Linked DNA regions of Homo sapiens: all the other regions are linked to region 3. The links are contacts of gene promoters, found by promoter capture Hi-C in blood cells and fetal thymus (Javierre and others, 2016). All regions are on one chromosome and are shown on one strand. Each heading gives the region's core, a stretch centred on a gene start or on the middle of the fragment in contact. The rest is flanking DNA. Distances are from core to core; before and after follow the strand shown. Region 1 has its middle 4.6 kb from the start of ZNF469. Region 2 overlaps ZNF469 (zinc finger protein 469). Region 3 holds the start of CA5A (carbonic anhydrase 5A).

Evidence for each region. The method cuts DNA at HindIII sites, captures the fragments that hold promoters and counts their contacts. A CHiCAGO score of 5 or more calls a contact.
Region 1: a fragment that was not itself captured here is called in contact with the fragment with the promoter of CA5A in region 3 in 1 of 17 cell types (naive B cells); the score reaches 5.5 in naive B cells.
Region 2: a fragment that was not itself captured here is called in contact with the fragment with the promoter of CA5A in region 3 in 11 of 17 cell types (endothelial precursors, M2 macrophages, M0 macrophages and 8 more); the score reaches 18.5 in endothelial precursors.

The regions. Positions count from the first base shown.
Region 1 is chr16:88,376,835-88,379,977 of GRCh38, forward strand. It overlaps a transcript of ZNF469 not described here. Among named protein-coding and RNA genes, the nearest start is that of ZNF469, 4.6 kb to the right of the region's middle. The HindIII fragment of the contact is 1,189 bases long and covers 792-1,980 here.
Region 2 is chr16:88,437,043-88,440,390 of GRCh38, forward strand. It overlaps ZNF469 (zinc finger protein 469), which reads left to right. Exons shown (of 3, transcript NM_001367624.2): 3 at 1-3,348. The coding sequence ends at 2,290. Among named protein-coding and RNA genes, the nearest start is that of ZFPM1, 15 kb to the right of the region's middle. RefSeq lists a silencer at 408-557. The HindIII fragment of the contact is 5,448 bases long and covers 1-3,348 here.
Region 3 is chr16:87,934,764-87,937,976 of GRCh38, forward strand. It overlaps CA5A (carbonic anhydrase 5A), which reads right to left and starts at 1,766. Exons shown (of 7, transcript NM_001739.2): 1 at 1,546-1,766. The coding sequence starts at 1,687. The HindIII fragment of the contact is 28,449 bases long and covers 1-3,213 here.

The sequences.
Region 1 (3,143 bases), core at 136-2,635, 440 kb after region 3:
TCCTAGGGCAGCCAGGAAGTGCAGGGCACAGGTGTGGTGTGTGCCCAGCCCAGACGCCAGGCCTCCTCCCAGCGTGCCCCGAGGCCCCCGAGGGCCCAGCCTCCTACTGGGTAAAGCAGGGAGGACGGCTCTGCCCGCTCATGCCGCCGGGAGGGCCAGAGGCACCAGAAGGCCAGGCCCCAGCGCAGGCTGGCTCTCAGCTGGGTCCCTTCAGCATCTCCCAGGAGGGACTTGCCAGAGCTGGAGGCAGAGATGGGACTCGACCCAGAGCCCACAGTTAGCCACCACTCCTGTGTCTTCTGCACACCAGGCAGGCCACAGGAGTCTTCCCAATGGGGCAGGGGCACAGACCGTGTGTCCAAAAGCAGCCCTGCTCAGAAGGCAGGAGCCGGGGTGGTGCAGGGCAGGGGGACTTCCCAGGGGAGGGGCGTTGCTGCTCAGAGCCTCACAGAGGGTGGGCAAGGTGGATCCTGCATGCCCAGACCCTCTGCCGACCCATGGGCCCGGTGGCTTCCGGCTACTCTCCCGCTGGGCCCGCCACCCATGGCAGCACGTGAATGTGTGAGCCGGTGTGTATGGCCTGCAGTGGGGGTGTGTGCCTGTGCCCCTGTGCAGGACGCCCTCGAGGCCACCCCTGTCCACCCCAGCTTTTTGCTCTCGACTGGGGCCATTCAGATGATGGGGCAGAAACGCTTGGGCCGTAGGCATCTGAGTCACGCGCCACCATCCGTCTGGAATGTCTCCTTGGACCGGGCTCAGCCGGGCTCCAGGCCCTGACACTCCCTCCCTCAAGCTTCCCTCTGTCCTTCCTCCCTTCCTCACTCCCCATCCTCCCTCCTCTATCTCCCTCCTCCAGCCCTCCCTCCTCTCTCCCACTCACTTTCCAAAGCCTTCCCCCTGTCCCAGCTGGCATCCTGTACCCACACAGGTCCTCAGGGCGCGGACCACGCCACCCCTCAAGCGCTGGCCTGCAGGTGCTGTGCTCTGTAGATGAAGATGTATTCATCCCCACTTTCGTATTCTAGAGCTTGTTGTTGTTGTTGTTGTTTGATGCCAGGAAAAAAAAATGGTTTTTGAGCCGAGCCCTGGCCAGGTGCCTAGGGCAGCACAGGGGTCACCACAGCGTGAGAGGAAGCCTGACCCAGGGACGGACACCTGCATCCTCAAGGACCCCAAGTCCAAAGAGCCACCCACTCCTCCTACCTTGCACATACCTGTTATGTCCAACTGTCCTAGACGCCCCAAGATCCCCCCAGTTCACCGCCAGGGAGTGGTGAGGCCGCAGCACCGTAGCCTCTAGGGGCCAGCTCTGCCCTCCTGACAGGTGGGCGCCATGATGTCATCTCCCAGATGAGCAAGTGGAAACTCAGAGAGGCCGCTGACTCACCCAGGCACACACGGCGGGCAGGGAGCAGGGGGCACCGGGGCCGGGCCTGTTTGTGCCCTTTTCTCTGCAGCATCCAGACCCAAATTGAGGGTCTACTCAGCAAAGTCCACGGGTACTGATTGTGTTCCAGAAATCCCAGGCTGGTAAAATAACTAGCGCCATATCAGCCAGGTCGCACGTTCTTGGAGAGGCCCCGTGATCGCTGTCCTCTGTGCTTGCACGCATCGTAACGGGGAGAGGACACACAAGCCCCTGCTCACCTCCTGCTGCACCCAGGAGCCGTCCTCAGGGAGGTGGGAGCTCATCAGAGGCCGTCCAGATGGGCTTCCTGCCCCATAGGGAGCGCCGAGTCTGCACCTCTGCCCGGCTGCTCACAGACCCCTGTATGTTGTGCAGACCCCAATGCTCGGGGCCCCCAAAGCTGCTCTCCCTTCCACTCCCACCCTGAACTAGGGAGAGGGTGGCAGCAGTCAGCACCTGGGACAGGCTCGACCACTAACTGCCACATCTTTGGGATGGGCTCTTTGCATCCTCCAGCCTCAGCTTCCCCTATCTAGCAAATGGGATTAAAGAGCCCATGAGATCACAGGTGAAGCTTGCTTTGAAAACTCCCAGAGTGTTTAAACGTCCCACATGCCACATCTCGGCCACAGGTCTGGTCCTCGCTCGGAGGTCTCCTCTCTCGAGAGCCCATCTGGGGCAGGCGTGGGCCCACACGTGGCAGGGGTGCGGCCTTGCTCTCAAGGTGCATGGTTGTCAGGATGGACGGGTGTCCACACACCCAGGCCATCAGCGCTGACCTCGAGTGCCAATGGCAATTGCCCTTGGAATCTGTCGGAGGCTTCTCGTGCCTCCCCCTGCATGGCGCTGGTTACTCGGTTTCATTTTTACATCAGGCAAAAGTCCAGGGGGTGACTCGTGTGAGCTGGCCCTCCTGACCGTCTACTGGGACCCAGGAAACCTCGCCCCCCGAGGTTGATCAGTAGCAGGCCTGGAGCTCTGGGCAGCATGTGGGCTTGGCCAGGGCATGAGACCTGGCTCAGTGGCTGTGGGTAAGTCTAGTCAGCAGCCTGCTGGGCCAGTTTCCTCCTGGAAAGCAGGGGCTAGGACCACCCGGGAGCCTTCCAGCTCTGCTGAGCTCACAGACACAGGGGACCTTCCCAGCCCCTGCTCCCTGCAGAGCACCCCATCAGGCAACTCCTTCCAGGAGGGGTGGACGTGGCCCTCCTTTTCAGCTCTCTGATGGCTTTGAGGGCTATGAAGAGGGGGAAGAGGCGCTGCCAGGGCCAGGCCAGGGGAGGGACGGGAATCAGGAGGCCAAGCCTGGAGCAAAGCTGCCCCCAGGAGGGTGCTGATACCAGGATTCTCACCTCCCGCCATTGACACCTGGGGCAGGATGATTCCTGTGCACTGGGGAGGCGTGGCAGCAGCCCCTGCCCCCCAGCTAGATGCCAGAGGTAGCTCCCAGTTGTAACAGTCCAAAGTGACTCCTGATGCTGCCACTGGGTTAGTCAAAGCAGGTGGGTGTGGAACATGGGGACAAGGCAAGGGGTGGACGGTGGCTCTGGGACAGGGGAGGTGTGCCGCGGGCCTTGGCCAGGTTGCTAGTCCTCCCTGTGAAAGGGAAGAGGCAGTCCCACCTCGCGGGGTTGTCAGAGTCCTTCACACAGTGACTGGCCCGGAGTGGGTACAGGGTCATCCCCTGTTGTCACCATGCTTGTGAGCATGGACTCTGAGTGAGGGCTTCTGTCATTTC
Region 2 (3,348 bases), core at 453-2,952, 500 kb after region 3:
CGAGCACCTGCGTGAGCACGCGGTCCGCTTCGCCCGCAGGGGGCAGGCGCGGAGGTCCTTGGGGGACCTGCCCGGAGGCCTGGAGGGCAGCAGCGCTGTCGCCCACCTTCTGAACAGCATCACGGAACCCGCGCCCAAACACCACAGGGGCAAGCGCTCCGCCGGCAAGGCCGCCGGGAGCCCGGGAGACCCGTGGGGGCAAGAGGGAGAAGCCAAGAAAGACAGCCCGGGCGAGAGGGCGAAACCCCGGGCACGCAGCACCCCCAGCAACCCAGACGGGGCCGCGACCCCAGACAGCGCCTCTGCCACCGCCCTGGCTGACGCCGGCAGCCCGGGCCCCCCCAGGACGACCCCCAGCCCGTCCCCCGACCCCTGGGCCGGCGGGGAGCCCCTCCTGCAAGCCACCCCGGTGCACGAGGCCTGCAAGGACCCCTCCCGCGACTGCCACCACTGCGGGAAGCGCTTCCCCAAGCCCTTCAAGCTGCAGCGCCACCTGGCGGTGCACAGCCCGCAGCGCGTCTACCTGTGCCCCCGGTGCCCCCGGGTCTACCCCGAGCACGGGGAGCTGCTGGCACACCTGGGCGGGGCGCACGGGCTGCTGGAGCGGCCGGAGCTGCAGCACACGCCGCTGTATGCCTGCGAGCTCTGCGCCACGGTTATGCGCATCATCAAGAAGTCCTTCGCCTGCAGCTCCTGCAACTACACCTTCGCCAAGAAGGAGCAGTTCGACCGCCACATGAACAAGCACCTCAGGGGGGGGCGGCAGCCCTTCGCGTTCCGCGGCGTGCGGAGGCCGGGAGCGCCGGGACAGAAGGCCCGGGCCCTCGAGGGCACACTGCCCAGCAAACGGCGCAGGGTGGCCATGCCCGGCAGTGCCCCTGGGCCCGGCGAGGACAGGCCTCCTCCCCGGGGAAGCAGCCCCATCCTGAGTGAGGGCTCTCTCCCGGCCCTGCTCCACCTGTGTTCGGAGGTGGCTCCCAGCACCACCAAGGGATGGCCCGAGACCCTAGAGAGGCCTGTAGACCCCGTGACCCACCCGATCAGAGGTTGTGAGCTGCCATCCAACCACCAGGAGTGTCCCCCGCCGTCTCTGTCTCCCTTCCCAGCTGCCTTGGCTGATGGCAGAGGAGACTGCGCGCTGGACGGAGCCCTGGAGAGGCCAGAGAACGAGGCTTCCCCAGGCAGCCCCGGGCCTCTTCTCCAGCAAGCTCTCCCTCTGGGGGCATCTCTGCCGCGGCCGGGAGCCAGAGGCCAAGATGCGGAGGGAAAGAGGGCTCCTCTCGTGTTCTCAGGGAAACGCAGGGCCCCGGGTGCCCGTGGCAGGTGTGCCCCTGACCATTTCCAGGAAGACCACCTACTTCAGAAAGAGAAGGAGGTGTCCTCAAGCCACATGGTGTCTGAGGGGGGGCCCCGAGGCGCCTTCCACAAGGGCAGCGCCACCAAGCCTGCGGGCTGCCAGAGCTCATCAAAGGACAGGTCGGCAGCATCCACCCCCAGCAAAGCACTCAAGTTCCCAGTGCACCCAAGGAAGGCGGTGGGGAGCCTGGCACCCGGGGAGCTGGCCCGTGGCACAGAGAATGGGATGAAGCCCGCCACCCCCAAAGCCAAACCCGGCCCCAGCTCCCAGGGCAGTGGAAGCCCTCGCCCCGGCACCAAGACAGGAGGTGGCAGCCAGCCCCAGCCAGCCAGCGGGCAGCTCCAGAGCGAGACAGCCACCACCCCAGCCAAGCCCAGCTTCCCCAGCCGGAGCCCTGCACCAGAGAGGCTCCCCGCTCGAGCCCAAGCCAAGAGCTGCACCAAGGGGCCAAGGGAAGCTGGTGAGCAGGGGCCCCACGGGAGCCTAGGTCCCAAGGAGAAGGGAGAGAGCAGTACGAAGAGGAAAAAGGGCCAGGTCCCAGGGCCAGCCAGGAGTGAAAGTGTGGGGAGCTTCGGGAGAGCCCCCTCAGCCCCTGACAAGCCCCCCCGGACCCCTCGGAAGCAGGCAACTCCCAGCCGCGTGCTCCCGACCAAGCCCAAGCCCAACAGCCAGAACAAACCCAGGCCGCCACCATCAGAGCAGCGGAAGGCAGAGCCGGGCCACACACAGAGGAAGGACAGACTGGGCAAGGCCTTCCCCCAGGGGAGACCCCTGCTCAGGCCCCCCAAGAGGGGCACAGCTGTCCACGGTGCTGAACCTGCCGAGCCACACACCCACCGGACGGCCGAGGCCCAGAGTGACCTCCTCAGCCAGCTCTTCGGGCAGAGACTAACTGGCTTCAAAATCCCTTTAAAGAAAGATGCTTCCGAGTAATTTCTAGGAGCAAGAGCCTGGGACCGGAGCTGGGCGTTCCTGTCTCGGCCTGCCTCCTTGGCCAGCTCCGGCTCCCTGAGATGGTCCACTCTGTGGCCACTTGACTTCTTGTGCAACTGCTCAGGCCTTGATGTCAGAGCTGAGGTGGTGATGCTTTGAACAGGGCCCAGGTGGGCAGCATTCCCTTTCTTGCTGGAAGGCTGGGGGTGAAAGACGGGGCCACTGCAGCCCTTTTGAGACCACACAGCTGTTTTCTTGGTACCAAGTACTTGAAGAGACAGCAGCCCATCCCCTCAGCCCACACCCCTGCGCCCTGTGGGCACCGACACCACAGAAGCCAATGTTTGGAGATTTGCACAACCTCCCGTTCCCCCACATGGAGAAGGGAAGTAAGTTGAGGCAGCCGTGGGATGGTGGTAGGTTCCCTCTTAGTCTTGCTGCTGTTGCTGGAATTCCAAAGTGACCTTAGAAACCACGTGGGGGAAGGCAGTGCTCACTACTTAGAAGGGTTGCTTCTGAGCCGCCTGGTCCCCCAAGAGCACAACAGGCCTCCTCCCTCTGACCACAGGGTCATGCCTCCTCCCTCTGACCACAGGGTCATGCCAGCCTCCATTTGCTCTGCGGGAGAAAAGCCCATCTCTAGCACACCTTGACCCCAGGAACCGGGTTCCCGTATGGAACTGGGAAGAAACCGCCCCTGTGCCAGCTCCCGCGGGCCCTCCTCGTTCCCTCCCAGCCTCCATGGCCGCCCTCTAGAGCCTCCCTGCTGTACGGAGCTCTGGGCTCCGCCTATTTGCAATGTTACTCTGAAGTTTCTGGTGCTATTTTTGTGTTGTAATGTGAATACAGGCTTCCTTGATTTTTTTTTTTAATGGGGGTATTGGGTGGGACAGACGGGGTCAGGGAGGCCCCACCATGGCTTGTCGAGGGCACGGGCACCTGCATGGCGGCGCTCTCCCTGCCTCCCCTGCCGGGCTGCAAGCCTGAGGTCTGTGCTGCCAGACGGGGATGCTCAGGGCTGGGGCTGCAGAGCCGCTGCCCTGGCCAGGGCACCCTCA
Region 3 (3,213 bases), core at 516-3,015:
AGCCTGGCCAACATGGCGAAATCCTATCTCTACTAAAAATACAGAAATTAGTTGGGCGTGGTGGCACACGCCTGTAGTCCCAGCTACTTGGGAGGCTGAGTCAAGAGGATCGCTTGAACCCAGGAGGCAGAGGCTGCAGTGAGCCGAGATCGCACCACTGCACTCCAGTCCACAGGTGTGGACCCCAACAGGAGGAATGAGTGTAGCTCACTCAGAGTCTGGGGTGGGCCAGGCTTTCTACACGCATCGTGTCATCCTTCCATGGCCCTGGAGAGAAAGTCTGGCCACCCCCATCTCGAGATAAGGACACAGAGGCTTGGGGGTGAAGACCTGCCGAGGCTCCACCTCAGCAAGCGTCAGTCGGACTGCATGCCTGGGGTCTGGCTCCTAAGCCCATGCTCTTTCAATGGCCCAAACATGGAATGCATGGAAGATTTCAGTTAGAAGAGAACTTGGCAGCTGCCAAAGCAGGCTCTCATTCTACGGAGGAAGCACCTGAGACCCAGAAAGAGGAAGGGCCTCGTTCAAGGTCACAAGGCACTGACCATGAAGCCAGGAGGGGCTGGCACGGGGCAGTTTCTTGGCAGAGCTGGCTGAGTGGTTTATTTGTTACAGGTTTGCTTGAAAGCGTTCTCTGCCGAAGAGTTTAGGAGCGATCGTGACTGGTTAGTGCAGCCCATTCCGCCGGGTCTGGATGGTGAGTCGTGCCAGTGTGTCCCGTGCGAACACGGACTACCCGCCTGCTCCCAGCATCTTGCCCTCCCCAGGACCCCTGAAACGGAGGCTAAATGATTCACCCAAGGTCACCAAATACAAGAGAAACGGAGTGTGGCCAGGCGCGGTGGCTCACGCCTGTAATCCTAGCACTTTGGGAGGCCAAGGTGGGTGGATCACCTGAGGTCAGGAGTTCGAGACCAGCCTGGCCAACATGGTGAAACCCCATCTCTACCAAAATACAAAAAATTAGCTGGGTGCAGTGGCGGGTGCCTGTAGTCCCAGTTACTTTGGAGGCTGAGGCAGGAGAATCACTTGAACCTGGAGGGCAGAGGTTGCAGTGAGCCGAGATCATGCCATTGCACTCTAGCCTGGGCAAAAGAGCAAAACTTCATCAAAAAAAGAAAAAAGAGGGCCGGGCGCCGTGGCTGATGCCTGCAATCCCAGCACTTTGGGAGGCTGAGACAGGCGGATCGCGAGGTTAGGAGTTCGAGACCAACCTGGCTAACACAGTGAAACCCTGTCTCTACTAAAAATACGAAAAATTAGCCAGGAGTGGTGGCATGCACCTATAGTCCCAGCTACTCAGGAAGCTGAGGCAGGAGAATCGCTTGAACCCGGGAAGTGGAGGTTGTGGTGAGCTGAGATCACGCCACTGTACTCCAGCCTGGGCCACAGAGCGAGACGCCATCTTAAAAAAAAAAAAAAAAAAACGGAGTGGAAATCTGAACCCATCTGGCTCGGGACGGTCTCTCCTCTCTCCTCTCGAAAGACCCCATCAGCTAAGACAAGGATCCAGTCGCATCTTAGGAAATTTGAGGCTCTACTTACAAGTGTTATTGCTGGTTTGCCATGCACAGGAACGCTGAGAACACCATCGCCCTGGCCTCATCGAACGACTCCAGAGAGGGGCCCACATCTGCTCAACCAAGAAGGAGAAAGCTGAGGTCTTCCAAGTGTTCCTCCCCAACATCTTGGGTCTGTTCCCACTGACTCCAGTCTGAAGAGGGTGATGTTCCCTGCTGTCTGTTCTCACTTTGATCAGGACCACTGTGGACTGGCGTGTACCCACCTCTTTTTGTAGAAACTCATCCCAACCCCTGAGCCTAATGGTTAAAGTTCAACCCATGCCTTTCCCAACAGGGTGGGTCCACAGGGATTAGTGGCCTCTGCTGGGGACAGGCCACTCAGGTCACTGGGCTTTGATCTGGCAAACAGGAGCACAAGTCTGCCAGGGAGCTAGAAAAACTGTACGGTGGGGCTGCGTGAGCACCAGGGGATTACGCGGGAGGCGGGGGCGAGTGGATGAGAGCAGAGTCCCTGTTTCTTTCATGGGGTTGACCGTGTGGTTTGGGGCTCCGGGACACTCAATACCAGGCACAAAGCCATGGTGTGCATGTGAGGAGGGACTGGCAGGCAGGCTCAGAAGTACAGGAATGGGACTGGCCAAAGCGCTGCTGGGTAGACAGGCCAGGGGAGCAGGGAGCTTCTGTCCACCCACCAGGGCTCCTGAAGTCATGGAGTCCTTGCTTGCCTTAAAATAGGTGCGATTTGATTCATTCATCCTCCCCGGAAGCAAGATGCCCTGTGGCTTCGGACACTTCCAGGTCATGCCTGCTGTCTTGGCATAAACATTAACAGGGCCACCTTTCTTTCTTTCCTTTTCTTTTTTTTTTTAGACAGAGTTTCACTTCTGTTGCCCAGGCTAGAGTGCAATGGCGTGATCTCGGCTCACTGCTACCTCTGCCTCCCAGGTTCAAGCAATTCTCCTGCCTCAGCCTCCTGAGTAGCTGGGATTACAGGCGCCCACCACCATGCCCAGCTAATTTTTTGTATTTTTAGTAGAGATGGGGTTTCACCACGTTGGCCAGGCTGGTGTTGAACTCCTGACCTCAGGTGATCTGCCTGCCTCGGCCTCCCAAAGTGCTGGGATTACAAGTGTGAGCCACTACGCCCAGCCTCTTTTCTTCGTTTCTTTTCTTTTCTTTCTTTCTTTTTTTGAGATGGAGTCTCGCTCTGTTGCCCAGGCTGGAGTGCAATGGCGTGATCCTGCCTCACTGCAACCTTTGCCTCCCAGGTTTAAGCAATTCTCCTGTCTCAGCCTCCTGAGTAGCTGGGATTATAGGCACACACCACCACAACGGCCAATTTTTTGTATTTTTAGTAGAGACGGGGTTTCACTGTGTTCCCCAAGCTGGTCTCGAACTCCTGAGCTCAGGCAATCCACCCACCTCGGCCTCCTAAAGTGCTAGGATTACAGGCATGAGCCACTGCGTCCAGCCTCTTTTCTTTTCTTTCTTTCTTTCTTTCTTTCTTTCTTTCTTTTTTTTTTTTTTTTTGAGGTGAGGTCTTGCTCTGTCACCCAAGGTGGAGTGCGGTGGTGCCATCATGGCTCACTGCAGTCTCAATCACCCAGGCTCAAGTGATCCTCCCTCCTCAGCCTCCCAAGTAGCTGGGACTATAGGTGCATGCCATTATGTCCAGCTAATTTTAAAAATT